3 separate regions of the Homo sapiens genome follow, and regions 1 and 2 are each linked to region 3. The links are contacts of gene promoters, found by promoter capture Hi-C in blood cells and fetal thymus (Javierre and others, 2016). All regions are on one chromosome and are shown on one strand. Each heading gives the region's core, a stretch centred on a gene start or on the middle of the fragment in contact. The rest is flanking DNA. Distances are from core to core; before and after follow the strand shown.

Evidence for each region. The method cuts DNA at HindIII sites, captures the fragments that hold promoters and counts their contacts. A CHiCAGO score of 5 or more calls a contact.
Region 1: a fragment that was not itself captured here is called in contact with the fragment with the promoter of TAF2 in region 3 in 1 of 17 cell types (fetal thymus); the score reaches 5.6 in fetal thymus.
Region 2: a fragment that was not itself captured here is called in contact with the fragment with the promoter of TAF2 in region 3 in 4 of 17 cell types (monocytes, megakaryocytes, fetal thymus and 1 more); the score reaches 9.7 in monocytes.

Annotation. Positions count from the first base shown.
Region 1 is chr8:119,634,532-119,637,307 of GRCh38, forward strand. All of the region lies in intron 2 of ENPP2 (ectonucleotide pyrophosphatase/phosphodiesterase 2), which reads right to left. Among named protein-coding and RNA genes, the nearest start is that of ENPP2, 2.9 kb to the right of the region's middle. The HindIII fragment of the contact is 1,251 bases long and covers 675-1,925 here.
Region 2 is chr8:120,065,640-120,068,385 of GRCh38, forward strand. No RefSeq gene overlaps it. Among named protein-coding and RNA genes, the nearest start is that of COL14A1, 58 kb to the right of the region's middle. The HindIII fragment of the contact is 2,044 bases long and covers 287-2,330 here.
Region 3 is chr8:119,831,579-119,834,278 of GRCh38, forward strand. TAF2 (TATA-box binding protein associated factor 2) reads right to left here and starts at 1,263. Exons shown (of 26, transcript NM_003184.4): 1 at 904-1,263; 2 at 99-153. The coding sequence starts at 986. DSCC1 (DNA replication and sister chromatid cohesion 1) reads right to left here. Exons shown (of 9, transcript NM_024094.3): 9 at 2,398-2,700. LOC105375728 (a long non-coding RNA gene) reads left to right here and starts at 1,301. Exons shown (of 4, transcript XR_928590.3): 1 at 1,301-1,498. RefSeq lists enhancers at 915-964, 1,025-1,384. The HindIII fragment of the contact is 3,868 bases long and covers 1,189-2,700 here.

The DNA.
Region 1 (2,776 bases), core at 50-2,549, 200 kb before region 3:
CCTTAAAGGCATTTTCAAAAACTTTTTCAGATAAATAAAAGCGACTTTATCCCCATTTTCCTGGTTGGAAAATTAGATCTCTAGGCCTTGTATGAGTTAGCCAAGGCCTGGATAAAATTTTAGATCATCTCACTGTAACTACAGTATTTTTTTCATTAATGAAAGGTTTTTCAAACTTTTGTACATAGTTTTCAAATTTTAGAAGTTCTTTTCAAAATATAATTTTGGGGAAGATTTGCTGATTTTATTGATTCAAAAATCTAGGCTGAAGTTCATGGAAGACTGAGATTTCTGAGTATGTAAACTAGATAGAGGAGTCTCTACAGTTTTCAGATAGATGAAAAATCACTACACTACAGCCCCATTTAACAAAGAACTGAAAAATCTGTACCCTCCTTAGCTTCCAGTTCAGATAATTTCATTCCATTGACTCAAACTCCCCAATTTCTACCTGAAATTTCACATAAAGCCCCATGACAGGATAATCCTAATGACCGAGTTTTGCTCACAGAGCAAATGGCTGATCTACGTCCCCTTTACAGTTTCCTGCATTCTCCCATGCCAACATTTAAATAGCTTTTCATTGCAGAGCAAAATTTCTAAAATTATCAAATGAACATAAACCTTCTCACTTCTAGTTCCATTTTCTGATTTCCCTATGATTCTCAAAGAAAAGCTTTATCCATAAAGTTGTTAGTGACAGTCTACATTTCATATGAACCTATGAATTTCATTCACATACTTTTCAACTTTCCTTTCAAGCCACTAAAAACAATGATGAATTAAACTGAGCTTTTAAGTCTCTGTTAGCCAGCTATTCACAAGCTCACAAATTTCCTTTTGTCTTTTAAGAATTAAATTACTTACATATCAAAGAGGATATTCTATTTCCACCTGGAGACAGTTTCTAAATCACAAGTTTCAATAAAATAGACTCCTGCATAACACCACAAACATACACACTGCAAGTGCACATGAGTGCACAGACACCTGTAGACATATAAAGTCTCTTGCAGTCTTAAAGGCAAATCAAGTGGGCCACATCAGACATATGAGAAAAAGATGTCAAACTAAATCACAGTTATGGCTTATATTTTCTTAGAAAATTTATTCCACCCATCTCACCGTCTCATTAACCTGAATGCCCATTGTATTTACCCAACAGAATTATAAGTAGCTTTTCTCATTTCATATCTCCTAATAAATCTATAAATCTTTTATGACCTGGTATAAAAAATCCTGTTCAGCCATTATTTCCTACGCTAACAATAAATCCAGGTAACAAGTGTGTTAGTTAATTAATTATGACAGTCTGTTTGCACTGCCACAACCTTGAAACTAACACCCCAGTCCATAGTACAGCAGCGAGGGCATCCATGTGTACAGAACATTCTCAGCTATTGTTGAGGACTCTGAGAAGCTATGGTTACTAAACAACTGCATGCTTTTGAATGGTGGATCTCACTCTGATCAATCCGAAGCTAGCCATATATCAATACCCTTTGTGTTCCTTCTATTTGTTGCACCCTTGGAGCACTGAGCTTCCCAGGATTTCTTTGGCGCCTAAAAATGTTGTTGGAAATAGGCATGGCTGCCTCCTCCCCACCTAGTGTCTTATTCTTACAGGCTTATAAAATTCACCCAGTATTTTCTGATGGGAAGGCTTTTCTAATGGTCAGAATAACCAGTCACATGTGTCAATCGAGAGAGATCCTTTCTAAGCATATGCAGCATTTAAACGCATAAAGATATTTCCACTGTCTACAGGATGCTTTTACCTAGTTTACTAAGTACATCCTTGATTTTTATTCAGGAGAAATCAACCACAGTTCCTAAAAAGCACATAAGCTACATCAAAAGAAAAATTATTCAGGCATATCCAAACCATAAAATTCAGAGTTAGGTTGCATTGTATTCTAAGACTAAGCTTCACGTGGTTAGAAGTTTAATAAATTATTTTAGATGATATCATAAAGGCCTAAAATAACCAACGACTTAATTAAATAATTCAAGGAGCAAATTCGTGTAGCCCACTTAAGACCATTTAGGTTTATAAATTATAATATAGACCATACTACTTTTCTAGAAGTGGCATTTATTCATTAGTTCATATAGCTATTCTTATAACATGGAAATAATTTACTATACACAAAATATTTTCAAAGACTAATAAATCCAATCTATACTTTTCAAGTTTTCCAGTAGTGAGCACAGAAATTCAAGAGGCAATGAAACAGAATAATTCCTGGGATTTTTTTTTTTTAATCCAGAAAGAAAAGTAGAAATCATCTAAGTCTGCTCCTCATTGTACAGCTAAGGAAACAGACTTCACAAGTGACTTGCCCAACACCACACAGCAAGTTACAGGACTCCAGGGTACCAGCCTAGGATTTTAATGACTGTTTTCCAAAAGAAGTCACCTTTAAAAATAATGAGTGACTCAATTTTACATTCATTAAGGAAACAGCATTTAATTCTTTCAATCTCAGTTTTAGCCAGAGTAATATATTAAGAGGAAACAGAAAAAAAAAGTTCCCTTTAGTGTTCATTGAAAAGAACCAGCAGTTGGCTCTCAAGTTGCTAGCTTTCCCACATGACCATGCTAAGGATCTGATTCCCCTGTCTGTTCAGTCACAGTCAGTGTTAATGGGAGTGAAAAAGAGGCCTTTGAAGAGAGCATTTGCTGCAAATAAAAACAGCATTCTCTAGCTCAGTGATCCACTGTCCTCTGCCTCCCCAACAGAAGACGACTCATTTTGTCCATTTGGCTCCCTGG
Region 2 (2,746 bases), core at 59-2,558, 230 kb after region 3:
GATGATGTAAACCTCTTAATATGAAAAAGATTAAGTCCAGAAACAAAGCATGCCTTGGTTCATCTGGCAACTCTGGTGAGGTCAATCGGAGGGTCTGTAAGGGCTGACACCCCTCCTTGCGTGAACAGAGACTGCCTCTCATTTGCCCCCGCTCCTAACCCCTGCCACCCCAAAAAGAATTCTACCACAAAAAATAAAAATACAAGTTCTCATTCAATACCCTCCTTTTTTTGGTGGAAACATTTCTTTACAGTTAATGTCTAGACTCTAGATTAAGTTCACGTAAAGCTTCCCTTTTTAAAAATTCATGCTGACTAGGAGTTAAAGTGCAAGGCTATTTCCTTTTGATCTCCTTGCCGTTTGTTCTCCATGACCACCAACTGACTTTGCCTGTCTTTTACTGTTTCCTTCCCCATTTTTACTCACAATCTGTTACGTCTCCTTATCAGCTTCTGGCAGCCTCTTCCAGCGCTCATTGAATGCTGAGCTCTCTCTATGGGATGCTGGCTACAATGGGGGTCTCTGAGATGCTGGCTACACTGGGGACAAGCATAAATATGAGTGTGGGGGCAAAACTGTACAATGGAAGCAGCACTGTGGAGCTCATTTGGAGAGGCTGTATCTGCTGGTGGATTCCTGTAGGATGACAGATGGGAAAGACAGCCAAAAGTCAGCACCCGGGCAGCAGAAAGATATATCCAGAAGCAAGTCCAGGTGCTGGTATTGGACCTGAATTGGAGATAGAGCCAAAAAGCATAATCTACACAATGCATTTGGTGGAAATACATTAGGAGACAAAATGAAAAATGGAAAGGGGCCGGGCGCTGTCGCTCACATCTGTAATCCCAACACTTTGGGAGGCTGAGGCAAGCGGATCACTTGAGGCCAGGAGTTGAGACCAGCCTGGCCCACATGGTGAAACCATGTCTCTACTAAAAATACAATAATTAGGTGGGCGTGGTGATGCATACCTGTAATCTCAGCTACTCAGAGGCTGAGGTGGGAGAATCACTTAAATCCTGGAGGCAGAGGTTGCAGTGAGCTGAGATCATGCCACTGCACTCCAGCCTGGGCAACAGAGTGAGACTTCGTCTTAAAAAAAACACAAACAAGAAAAAAACAACAACAAAAACAAATCTGCAAAACTGTGTGCAGAGTTTCTGGAAAGCTACAGGGCATTATTCTGCTGAAAGACTAACTCCCAGGTTTACACAGCGACGATGATGGCAGACCTGGAACATGAATCAGGTGTTTCTGACTTCAGGACCAGTACTTTTGTTCACTACATTTTTCATCAGCTTAGGGCGAAGCACTGAAGGTGCCTCCTGCAAGGATCAATGCTAAGGTACAAGGACTCAGGATTGAATAATGTATTAGCCTTGGGCTTTTACAGATTAAGGATGTTGGGAAATTACAGAACCACAGTATGAAGCTCTAGAGGGAGTGCTGGAGGGTCAGAGCAGTGAGATGTGCTGTAAATAGGAAAACAAATCATGAGGTCAGAAGTCAAAAGAAGAGAATAGGGCAGAAGCATAGAGCCACAGAATTTACACTAGGAAAAGGGCTCAAGCTGGAGACTGAACCATAGGAGGATGCTAGAAGCCAGCTTTCATCTGATGTGGGTTAAGGGGGCCACCAGGATAGAGAGGACCCAACAGGGTAGACTTGAGACAAGGGATGAGGATATCAGAGAAACCACCAAAACTTCCTACAAATACTAGCCCAAAATGTCTTTGCCATGACTATGAAGAGTGGAAATGTCCAATAGATCAAGACTAGGTAAATTATCACTTGGGGTGATCATATTTGGGATTCTTGGTTATTCCAGAAAGATCAACCCCAATTCTTCTGAGCACCAATCATATGTATTTTAATTGTTCACTCAGCTCTCAATGGTATAGACATACAAATAGCTGCCTATACTATTGAATTATTAAATGCACATTGTTGAATATATTTTTCGATCCCCCAGTACCTATTCCTATTCTTTTGCTAAACCTGTATTTTGGGAGTAAATTGCCTTTCCTTCATTTTGTGTGGTTCTTGTGAGATATCTATCATGGTGCCCCAGTCTCTCCTAGTGAAAATGAGTCCCATACCCAAGCTATACCAATTAACATTCCCTTCCAGGACTTTGAATTTTGAGCAGAAGAATATAAAGGTATAGAAAAGAGTTGAAGTTTATTCACCCAGGTGGTTCCCCAGGCCTGTCTTGGTTGCTTTCCTCTCTGAGCATGGTCCTAGAGCTTTTGGATGAAATCTGTGGACTATAGTGGCCTTTCGTGACGTAGGGAGTAAATAACTCATGATTAGGACAAGGTGGTTGAGTAAGCTTGGAAGAGCCCACGGTATCAATTCCACAGAGGAAGTGGAGACCAAGCACCAGACACAGAATCAGGCATCTGCCAAAGAATTCAAGCAAGAATGCAAGCAATCAGATTCAGAAGGTGTACTGTGGAAAAGATTGCCTGATTAATTCAGAAAAGAGTGGTAGATCAGTCATAATGTTTCTTGCTTGCAAGTGACAGAAAACCAGCTTGAACCAGTTTTAAGAGAAAAGAAAAAGGCTGTATTGCTTTAGTTAACCACATTGCAACAGGAACAATGATTAAATAATTTATCATCCACCTGGGGCACTTCCGAGACTGAAAGAGCTACACTTCTGAGAAGGAAAGTTAATGATTAAGCTGGAACAACAGGTGTAAACTGGGACAAATGGGCCCTATACCCATTTGGATGTCTTCTC
Region 3 (2,700 bases), core at 13-2,512:
ATCTGGAAGACTACAAACTTTCTAAGTACTGTGAGGGGTGGATTGTTACTCTTTATAGTGGACTTGTTACTATTTATAATTGTTGAGAATAAACTTACCACAACAGATTTTCTCTGGAAATTTATGTTGTTGATGCAGACGACCTGATGGGTTGTATATTAATAAATATAAAAAGAAAATAAGGAAAAAATAATTTTTATTATTAAATCAAAGTATAATTCTATCCAAGTATAAATTAGGACTATGTTCTAAGTAATTCAAAATTACATGTCAATATTTCATTTTAAAACTACGAATTGGGGCCTGGTGCGGTGGCTCACGCCTGTAATCCCAGCACTTTGGGAGGCCACGGCAAGCGGATCACGAGGTCAAGAGTTCGAGACCAGCCTGGCCAACAGAGTGAAACCGAGTCTCTACTAAAAATACAAAAGTTAGCCGGGCATCGTGGCACACGCCTGTAATCCCGGCTACTCAGGAGGCTGAGCCAGGAGAAAAGCTTGAACCCGGCAGGTGGAGGCTGCAGTGAGCCGAGATCGCGCCGTTGCACTCCAGCCTGGGCGACTGAGAGACTCCGTCTTAAAAATTAAAAAATTAAAAAAAAAAAAACACTCTACCAATTGGGATAATTTTTTAAAATCTAGCAACAGTCACGAAAACAGATTTGACAGAAATACAATCTAGTACTTAGACAAAAACTTTAGTAACTTGCAACGGGAATTAAATTTGCTGAATAACCTGTCATTCAAAACATTTTTACCTTACAAACACCATTTCCATCACAGTGAGTAAATTCTAGTTTCCCACTAGGTTTCCCAGGCCCACCAAGTCAATTTCAAGCAATCGCAAAATATAATTAATGGCAACAAAACCAAAAGGAAGGAAGGGAAATGAAAAAATACTTATAATTTATATGGCCTTGGGCTTTCAAAGCCCTTGTCTCCTTTCTTCCTGTTCATTCTGGCGGGCTCTACACCAGTCAGCGGCATGAAGCGGTCCCGCGGAGCTTGGCTTCCCGGCTTCCTAGGGGGATACGGGGCATTACTAGTCTTTGGCACCTCACACTCTCCACTCCCCTGCGGTCCCCAAGTCACGTCTCGCAGCTGGCCGGTGCCCAGGTGAGCGACCTGACGGGTCGCTGCCCGCCTCAACCTCGCTCCTTCGACTAGCTCCTAGAAGCCGCCGTCGACAAGCTTCTGTCACAGAGATGCTCCTCTCCGCAAGGGCTCGAAGCTACCATCCGCCGACATCTTGTCTGTAACCTCTGACCTCCGACGTCAGCGGAAGTGGAACGGCGGCGGGGGTAGAACCAGGAAGTCTTGTCAATGGGCAGGGCTTGCGATCTTCGCATGTGTCTTATCGTAAAGAATTGTTAAAATTTAGGATAGGGAAAAAACTATTTAATGGATGAAGCGAGAACAGCAGGAAGAAAAGGAGGGAAGGTAGTTTTCTAGTACAAGCATATTGAGAAGAATGGAGGACAAAGTTTGCGAAGAGCCAGGTATAAATAGGCTGGGGCAGGGTGCTAGTAACTGGGCGGGGTGGGGTGGTGGGAAGTCTCCCGAAATCAGGAGGTGCGTGCCTCTGGCTTGCTGTGTGAACAGACACACTGGGTCCGGTGATTTAAGCTGTAAAATATGTGATTAGACTGCAGGTAGTCTAAATGTCAAAACTGCAGCACTCCACAGCTCTCACTAGGCACTGCTGCCTTAGTATTTATTTTAAAATATAGATTACAAGGCCGGGCGCAGTGGCTCACTCCTGTAATCCCAACACTTTGGGAGGCCGAGGCGGGCCGATCATTTGAGGTCAGGAGTTCGAGACCAGCCTGACCAACATGGTGAAACCCCGTCTCTACTAAAAATTACACAAAATTAGCTGGGCGTGGTGGTGCACGCCTGTAATCCCAGCTACTTGGGAGGCTGGGGCAGGAGAATTGCTTGAACCTGGGAGACGGAAGTTGCAGCGAGCTGAGATCGTTCCACTGCACTCCAGCCTGGGCGACAGAGCTGAGACTGTCTCAGAAAAAAAAAAAAAGAATAAAATATAGACTACAGGCCAGGCGTGGTGGCTCACGCCTGTAATCCTAGCACTTAGGGAAACTGAGGCAGTCATATCACTTGAGGTCAGCAGTTCAAGACCAGCCTGGCCAACATGGTGAAAGCCCGTCTCTAGTAAAAATACAAAAATTAGCCCTGCGTCGTGGCGTGCGCCTGTATTCCCAGCCACTCGGGAGGGTGAGGCACCAGAATCACCTGAACTCGGGAAGCCGAGTTTGCAGTGAGCTGAGATCATGCCATTGCACTCCAGTCTGGGAGACAAAGCGAGACTCCCTCTCAAAATAAATAAATAGACTACATAGAGATATATAGACTGTGTATATATATCATATAATCCATATAAATGCAGAAACATTTATTGAAAGACATTTCGAAGCCATCGTGTTTGTATTTCATGTTCATGACAATAAAACTTGTAAACTTCAGTAACAGTTAAACCTTCTTTAATTATGGATTAGCCATTAACATTTTTGAAACGTGGACCATTTAACCTCGGCCTACCCCCTCCAACTGTCCTGGTGATGAGTTCATTAGCTAAGTTAAAATTAATTTGAACTTTGATCTAAACCAAAACAAATCAGGAAAATAAAGCTGTAAAGGAACTTTATCAAGCATTCCAAAACCAACTAGAAATTACTTGAAG